Linked DNA regions of Homo sapiens: region 1 is linked to region 2. Evidence: promoter capture Hi-C in 16 types of primary human blood cells and fetal thymus (Javierre and others, 2016). All regions are on one chromosome and are shown on one strand. Each heading gives the region's core, a stretch centred on a gene start or on the middle of the fragment in contact. The rest is flanking DNA. Distances are from core to core; before and after follow the strand shown.

Region 1 (4,614 bases), core at 2,088-4,587, 230 kb after region 2:
GTTCTTCTTAGGGGGAGGGAGTGAAACGGTGGCCTTGCTCCAATTCCAGGCCTCTGGAGAAAGGAGTGCTCAACTGGAGAGTCTCAGAACCTTTTACAGTACTTCAGCAGGCCCAGCACCCAACCTTCCCCACCATACCCCTGCCCTGGGAATGCCCCTTACCACAGTGGCTTCCATTCCTGACATTTGAACCAGCTCCTGCACTTGAAGGACAAGGCAGCCACTGGGCAGCTCCGGGAGGCGGGAGGCGTGACTCCTTCATATCAGGCCATCTGGAGGAGCACCAGATTTCCCTCTTGTGAAACAACCCCCCACAGTGGGGATTTAATGGTCACCACACAAGCCCCAAAAAACCAGGCCCTGCAGAGCCATGACTTCACAGGGGAGAAAACCAGCCCAAGAGGCTGCCCTCACCCAACACTTAGCTCTAAGTCCAGACTCTTAAAGGTTCTGTTAAAGATCTGCGGCCAGGCGCAGTGGCTCACATCTGTAATCCCAGCACTTTGGGAGGCCGAGGTGGGCGGATCACGAGGTCAGGAGAGCGAGACCATCCTGGCTAACACAGTGAAGCCCTGTCTCTACTAAAAATACAAAAAATTAGCCAGGTGTGGTGGCGGGCACCTGTAGTACCAGCTACTTGGGAGGCTGAGGCAGGAGAATGGCGTGAACCCAGGAGGCAGAGCTTGCAGTGAGCCGAGATCACGCCACTGCACTCCAACCTGGGTGACAGAGCGAGACTCCGTCTCAAAAAAAAAAAAAAAAAAAAAAGATTTGCCTAGTGAGCTTGGCCAACCCAAGAGCCTTCCTGGGCTCTCAGGTTTCTTGAGGCAAAACTTCTAAAGATGCAAATAGAATCCTTGGTAGCTACAAAGCTCATCTAGCCAAATTATAAGTACTATCCAAGCCCAGGATTCATTCTTGAAGATGAGATGTAAAAGCACTGCTGGGCCCTTGCAAAGGGAGAGATCAGAGAAAATAGGAGAACGAACACCAGCTCATGCCAATCTCAGTCTCATGAGCTACAGAGAAAAAGAGCCAAAAAAGTTTATCCTGGCTCAGCCACCTTCTGGCTTTGTAGCTACAGGCAAGTTATTTAACTTTTCTGAATGTTGGTTTTTCCATCTGGAAAAAGGAGACAGGAAAAGCTGCCACTGGAGGCTACCTTAAGGGTCAATGAGTGAAATGGGGTTGAGTGCTTAATGAACTGTTAAAACATGACACAGATGGGTGAGGTGACATCTGACTGCTCTTCACAGCAGTCCTTGCATGGTGAGCAGATGCAATCAGTGTGCTCGTTCATTCACTTGTTCATCAAACACCAACAGTACCCACTTGTGCCAGGCCTTGTGCTGGGCACCGTAGGGGCTATGGAAGGAGTAAGACACAGTCATGCTCTCAAGGAACTCGCTGTCCAGCAGAGTGATAGGACATGAATACATACTTCTAGCAAAGGCTGAGTAGCATTAGGCAGGTGGCCAGATGAGGTCAGAGCTCTGGCCCTAGTGCCCTGTAGTAAGTTGCGAGGGAGTAGGAAATGAAGACAAAACAGCAAGAGCACAGGTCCAGCACAAGAAGGTGAAGGACATGGAAAGAGGAGCAGAGCATGATAAAGCTACAAAAGTAGGGGGCAAGTCATGAGGTCCGGGTCACTGGGGAGCCCTGGACAGGCTCTGAATGGGAGATAGACTAGACTGACAAAGCAGCTCTTTCTGGAGACCTCCTGTGGAGGGTCCCCTCTTCTACCCTTGGGAGACGAGGTGTCATTCACTTCACGATACACATGGGGAAAGGAAGTTGGACAGGGGAAGGCACTTGTCTAAGGTCACTCAGTGGTCATGCCAGTGCAAAGCACCCAAAGCCTGGTCCAGGTCCTGCCACCTCCTGCGTGGGCTCCATCTTCTCGGCTCAGTTCAAGCCTTTATTATCAGAGTCCCTCTGTGTGCCAGGCTCTGTGCTGAATGTCCGTGTCGGCCACAAATTGCACTAACGGTGCTTACTGCCACTTCCTCTCCGACCTTACCTCCAAAGACCCAGCCGGGCCTAACCCTCACACACAGCCAGAGGAATCCTTCCCAAACACAGTTAATCACATCGCTCATCCGTTTAAAACTGGCTTACTAGAGCCAACACAGGATAAAATCCACAATCAGTCCCAAACCCATCTTTCTCTGCCGTCTCTAGACCACATTCACTGAGCACCAAGGCCTGCACGCTTCGCAGCCAGCCCTCCTGCTCTCCCCCTTGCCCTCCAGCCACACTGGCCCTCAACCCCCAACACTGGGCCCACCTCTGAGCCCTGCATCAAACACCAGCACCCCCTTCGCCGAGCTCATTCTTCATCATTCCTCAGAGCTCAGCTTAAGCATCACCTTCCTTCCCTGCGACAGGGTCAGGTCCTTTCCTGTGCGCTCCGCAGCACCCTGCCTGTCCCTCGGAGTCCTCGCGAGAGGAACTAGATAACTGTGATCCCCGCGCACAGCACGGTGTCTGCCTAGGACACAGTGAGCGCTTCAACGCGCTGAACTAAACGAATGAAGGGGAACACCAACTCAGCTGTCACCCCCGCCCCCAAGTGTCACTGGCTAGAAGATCTTCCCCCGGTTCGCCGGCAGCACCGGTGGGTCTTGTCACCTCTGCGCCCCGCAGCCCTCCGGAGGCTGCAGTTGCTGTCTGCTGACAGGCGTCCCCTCAGGAGAACGGGAGCTCCTCCAGCGCAGGGCCCTGCTCAGCACCCCTGGTCCCGGGGGCCCCCACGGAGGCCGCCGCGCTCAGTGAAACTTTGCCGCGCGCAGCAGTGGCCGGAGACCCGCGCGGACCCTCTCCCCGCGGGGACCCGCCAGGGCGAGTCGCCCCTCCCCCGCGGCAGACGACCCGACCTGGGCCAAGGTCGGCCAAGTGCTCGCCGCCTGCCCAGCGGCCCTTGGACCCACAGGACCCGGACCCGAGTGCGCGGAAGCCTCCGAGCCGCGGCCAGGTCTCAGAATGCGCGGCGGGGCAGCCCGGCCCGTCAAGCAGCGAAGCCGAAACTAGAAGCCTGAGGTCTGGCTTGGTCACTGTTTGCTGGGGAACTCCGACGAGCAACTACCCTTCGGGGACTCAGTTTCCCCCGGGCCAAGTGAGACGGACAGCTGCGGCTCCCGCGAGAACTCGCGCGGGAACAGGAGCTGCGGGCTCCGCACAGCGCCCGGCACGTAGACCCAGTCTACTAACGGGCTGGAAGGTCGCGCTCCCGCCTCCGCGCCTCCCTAGAACCTTTCTCACCTCAAGCTCGGGCTCCCGGACTCTCTCACCTCACGGCCCCTCCTTCCACCTTGGGCCGCCCAGCCTCAACCGCCCTCACTTCCGCTGACCCGCCCCCCGGAAGCGATCCTCCGCAGCTGCGCACCGAGGCGCACCTCCGCGCACCCTCAGGAGGCGGGTCCAGCTCGGTGGCGAGGGGAGCGCGGCCCCCGAGTGGGCGAGGCGCTGGCGGCTGTAGGCTCCGATACCGCGGAGCACACTCCCCTCCATCGAGACCGTGCCCCCGCGGGGTCTGTGTCCCCGGGAGGAGTTGGCTGCGTTTGGAGATCCCTCGGCCTGGTATTCGTCGCGTCTCCCTGCTTGTTGCTCTCCACGTTTAGCCCCATCCGACTTCTGGAAGCCCAGGGGTGTGTCGCTCGACCCCTAAAATATGCTCCTACCCCTAGGGCAAACTTCAGAATCCTCACCCTGGCCCCCTTCCCAGTTCTTGGTTCCCAGGCAGGTCCCTTTGCAAAGCCTCTCTCCAGCAAGAATGCGCAGAATGGGCCTCTTTCTCCTCTTGACTCCTGCCCTCCAGCACTTTGCAGCTTTCTTCTATTTTAGCCTCTCTCTCTCTCTCTCACACACACACACACACACACACACACACACACACACACACACGGTATATTCAATGAGTTTGCTTATTAGATGGGTACTTGATGTACAAGACTCCAGAGGCTCTGTGGGAAGAGCCACATTCCTTCCAGGCTCACTAACCCACTCCCTCTTTGTGCTCCAGCCCTCACTGTCTTGGTCTGTGGCATGCAGTTCCTGGGTCACATTTCCTTCTCTGCCTTCAGCACAGCCTCGGGCTGTGCCTGGCTCCCAGGCTGGAGTTCCTTGGTTCCAAAGCCTGCAGTCCCCTCTGCCAGAGACAGAGCTGGTTTCATGGGTGAACAGCCCATGCAGTCACAACGGGCCGCATGCTCAGAATCCTGTACTTGGTTTAGTACTTTGCTGTTGCCGTCTTGAAATGATTTTCTAATAGGGGTTCTTGTGTTTTCATTTTGCACGGGGCTGTGCAAATTATGTGACTGGTCCTGGCTAGAGACCTCAGAGGTCGTCCACCCTGATCTCCACCATATCTCAAACGCTGAAGATTGACTTCCAGGTCTGGCCCTCTTCCCAGGATGGCACATTGTGTTTTAATCATTACCTTTCCCTCCTGTGCGATGGCGGATCATGCAAGTCCACGCTGGCTGTCTGTCCTGGGTGTAGATGCTGATTTGGTGTCCCACTCAGATCCCCTTGCAGGAAGAACGGAGCTCCCTACCTGGGAATTTCCTTCACCTCCCAAGCCAATGACTGATAAAAGGTCCAAAAGGCCAGTTC
Region 2 (4,131 bases), core at 584-3,083:
GCTGGTGACATATTTATTTCTTCTATACCAGTACCGTACTCTCCCCACTGGGATTATTTTAAGGCAAAACCCAGATGACATTTTATCCCTAAATACTTTAGATAAAGGTGTTCTTTGAAAAAAATCATAACCTCAGGACCAGCCTGGCCAACATGGTGAAACCCTGTCTGTACTAAAAATACAAAAATTAGCTTGGCATGGTCGTGGGCACCTGTAATCCCAGCTACTCAGGAAGCTGAGGCAGGAGAATCACTTGAATCCGGGAAGCAGAGATTGCAGTGAGCTGAGATTGCAGTCGAGCCTGGGCGACAGAGACAGAAATGAAACTCTGTCTCAAAAACAAACAAACAAAAAAACCACTATACATAAAAATGAACAATGATGCCACAATAGCACCAGAGAATTTTATAAATACAGATTCCCAGGCCCTGCCCCAGACCTACTGAATCCTGGAAATATTCAGGCTCCACACCCAGAGATTCTGGTTCGGTTGGTCTGATGCAGGGACCTGTAACCTGCGTTGTAACACCTTCTCCAGGTAATGCTGAGCCTGCTGGTGCTCAGAGTAGACAGACCTGGAGAAAACCAGGGTGTCTGAGGTTTTCCAGAAGAAAACCAGAGTCCAGAGAAGCAGAGAGGCACTCAGTGAGGACCCAAGCAGAGCGGGTGCACCTCACATCCTCACTCCTGGCACCCCGTCTCCTACAAGATGAGAGACTGAAAGAGCCCCTTCCTGTCCCCAGTGGTGTGGGCAAGAGGCCTGCACCTCTGACTCTTGGCTCTGTGAAAGGCCATACCCACCAAGCCTATGGTCCTAGCGACAAAGGGTGCTGGGGAGACGAATTGACCAGACAGGGAGGTCTCCAGCAGCTTCTTTCTACACAGAGGGCACCTGTCAGAGGCCAGCGTGGGGGCCACAGGCTCCCCAATCCCCAAGAACCGCCAGGGAAGGAGGCTGCTTCAAGTGGGTGGGGCACCAAGCTGGCCAGGAAGGACAGGGCTTCTCCCAGCGGTACCAACACGGTGGCACCTCCGGCCTGCATCTCCCAGGCTTGCTTGTCAGGCTTCCTGGGGCTCCCAGGAGCCGCTGCGGGGGAGGGGAGAAGGGGTGGCAGCAGTGGCAGTGGTCGTCTCTGCTCCGATGGTGACTGCCGATGACACTGTTCTCTGTGCGGGTGGAGACAAAGCCGGCCACTCCAGATTCTCCTGCGCGCAGGAGAGGAGGAGCTGGCGCTGCTTCAGTGGCGAGGATGGGTCGATCAGTCCCAGCCGGTCCTAGGGAGAGACACTGCCCCAGCCTGAGGGCGGCGCAGCCCACCCCACCCCAGGACCCTCCTAGCAGGAGGACAGGAACGCAAGCCGACCTCGGGGGGTCTCCGGCCTGAGAGGGGAACATGATCAAGCCCAGGGCAGCCGCCAGTCGGAGGGGGCAGACGCGGCCCCAGTAGCCTCTGGAGACCCTCTTCCGAGGCAAGGAGCCACATTCCTGCCGTCGGGACCACCAAAGCGGATTTCTACAAACTAAAGTCGAGAACTTTTCGGCGGCGAGGCGGCGCACCCCGCGCGGGAGAGGGGGCGCAGGCGTCACCCCGTCCTCACTCAGCAACACCCGGCGCCGCGCCGGGCGAAGGCTGGCAAACTTCTCGCGGCCGGCAGGTGGGCTCCGCGGGCCCCATGGGCGCAGGCACAGGTGTGCGGGGCCACAGCCGGGCCTTTTGCAGCCGGCGACCGCCCCCCCTTCCCCGCGGGCTTTTGCACACGACGCGCCGACGGCAGCTTCACACGGGTTGGCGAGGGCCGGATAAAGCCGGCGGCCGCGGGGCGCAGCGGCTGACCCGAGACACGGGAGCGCTTGGCACGCGGAGCCAGAGCCGGAGCTGCAGCCGCAGCGGGAGCCGGGGGAGCTCAGGGGCCGCAGGAGCCGGGCCGGAGTGAGCGCACCTCGCGGGGCCCTCGGGGCAGGTGGGTGAGCGCCACCCGGAGTCCCGCGCGCAACTTTCAGGGCGCACTCGGCGGGGCGGCTGCGCGGCTGCCGGGACTCGGCGCGGGACTGCATGGAGGCCAAGGAGAAGCAGCATCTGTTGGACGCCAGGCCGGCAATCCGGTAAGGCGAGAGCCTGGGGACGGGCGGGAATTTTGGCGGCAGCCGACGCACCTCCGCATTTGCCATCCTAGCAGTGGTTGGTTTTGGCTGCGGCTTGAGCTGGGACCATGCAGGAGGGGTGGGGTGAGGTGAGGGAACGAAGATAATGGGCTGTGGCCCAAGGACCGTCTCTCCCTTGGGGCGCAGCCCAGATTCTGACCCCTGCCCGCGGGGGGCCTGGGGCCGGGGGATTGGCGGTTCCCATGCCTGGAGTCCCGCCCCGCCCAGCACTTTGCCCCAGGCAGCCCCGCCCCGGGGAGGCCCTGTGTCCCAAGTGCGCTGGAGGGGGCCTGCTGTTCTCCCAGAGCCTGCGCTCTGTTCCTTCCCCGCGCTCCACTGGACAGCACGCCCCTTGGCCGGTTCCCAGGGTCTTCACCTCCTCTGGCCTCTGAAGGGCCCCGGGCCCCAGGACTCCCATTCCCCTATCATCCCCGTCTGAATACAGGCTTCTCACCTCTGGTTTGTCGAGCTCGGAGCGTCCTTAGCTATTTTTCCCAGTGGACACAAGGCCTCACAGAGAAATGGGACTAGAGTCGGCCCTCCTTACCTCATCTCAGAGCTGAGCGTTCCCTCTCTTCCCCTCTGGCCAGGTCATACACGGGATCTCTGTGGCAGGAAGGGGCTGGCTGGATTCCTCTGCCCCGACCTGGCCTGGACTTGCAGGCCATTGAGCTGGCTGCCCAGAGCAACCATCACTGCCATGCTCAGAAGGGTCCTGACAGTCACTGTGACCCCAAGAAGGGGAAGGCCCAGCGCCAGCTGTATGTAGCCTCTGCCATCTGCCTGTTGTTCATGATCGGAGAAGTCGTTGGTAAGCACTTTTGGGCTAATTAAATGAAGTTGGTGCATGGATAGACTGGATGTTCCCAGCAATACTGACACTAAAAGCCCCAATTACTGAACACACACTACAGTAAGCCTTTATATACACATTATCTGATGCAGGTCTAACAACAACCTGTGTTCTCACATGGGTGACGTTATTCTCCTTACTTTACAGATGATGAAACTGAGGCATGTTCAGGTGAAGTAACTTGCCAAAGATCACGCACAACTCGTAGCTAAGGGAAGGCCTGAATTCCTAGAAGGGAAGAGCATTTACTGAGTATCTGCTATGTTTTCCAGTCCCTATTTGAACTTGATGTGCACATTCACCCTCTAAGTAGATATTGGTGGCCCATTTCACAGAGAGTGGAAGTTGAGGCTCAGAGAGAGTAGGTCACTTGTCACGGTGGTACAGCTCATGGGTAGAGAGATCTTGAGCCCAGAATGTCCTCTTCCAGAGCCTGTGGTCTCCCTGCTGCACACACAGTCTTGGGAGCCAGCTCTCTGGGGGAGCTGATAAGGACCCTCCACCCTGCAGGTGGGTACCTGGCACACAGCTTGGCTGTCATGACTGACGCAGCACACCTGCTCACTGACTTTGCCAGCATGCTCATCAGCCTCTTCTCCCTCTGGATGTCCTCCCGGCCAGCCACCAAGACCATGAACTTTGGCTGGCAGAGAGCTGGTGAGGATCGCGGTTTGGCTGGAGATGGGGTTGAGAGAGAGGGTGGGTTAGAACAGGGGTTCTTAGGTGGCTGTAATGGGTGGATCCCCCCTTCCTCCCCTGAGTGAGGCCAGGAGGGTGATCTGGATGGGGGAAGAGGATGTCAACCATGGCCTCTGTCCTCTGGGAAATCCTAGTCTGATGGGGGAGCCCTGGTCCCAGTCATCCAGGAGCTCTCAGTCTGCAGGGAAGCAAAGTTGACCTTCCTAAGAAGTGCAGTAGCCAAGCTTCAAGAACAAATGACAATGGCATTAACACTGCACATAACTCTGTGGATCAGCTCTGGGGGGAGGGGAAGGCCAGCAAAGGCTGCTGGAAGATATAGGCTTTAACCTCTCTTCCGTTCACCCTGGACTGCATCGTCACCTTCCTCTTTGTGGGAGATGGCCCAGCCTGTCTTCCCCAGAAGCCTCAGTTTACTAGCTGAACAAAAGGCACA

What was found. Contacts are between HindIII fragments. The CHiCAGO score rates a contact against its expected background, and 5 or more counts as called.
Region 1: the fragment with the promoter of MTFR1L here is called in contact with the fragment with the promoter of SLC30A2 in region 2 in 1 of 17 cell types (neutrophils); the score reaches 7.6 in neutrophils.

What each region holds. Positions count from the first base shown.
Region 1 is chr1:25,818,677-25,823,290 of GRCh38, reverse strand. It overlaps MTFR1L (mitochondrial fission regulator 1 like), which reads right to left and starts at 3,337. Exons shown (of 7, transcript NM_001099625.2): 1 at 3,262-3,337; 2 at 163-272. The coding sequence starts at 186. LOC646471 (a long non-coding RNA gene) reads left to right here. Exons shown (of 1, transcript NR_024498.1): 1 at 1-3,337. RefSeq lists enhancers at 2,542-2,631, 3,012-3,151 and silencers at 2,742-2,911, 3,362-3,551. The HindIII fragment of the contact is 17,718 bases long and covers 1-4,614 here.
Region 2 is chr1:26,043,820-26,047,950 of GRCh38, reverse strand. SLC30A2 (solute carrier family 30 member 2) reads left to right here and starts at 1,833. Exons shown (of 8, transcript NM_001004434.3): 1 at 1,833-2,104; 2 at 2,734-2,954; 3 at 3,507-3,653. The coding sequence starts at 2,055. RefSeq lists an enhancer at 2,234-2,802. The HindIII fragment of the contact is 10,541 bases long and covers 1-3,921 here.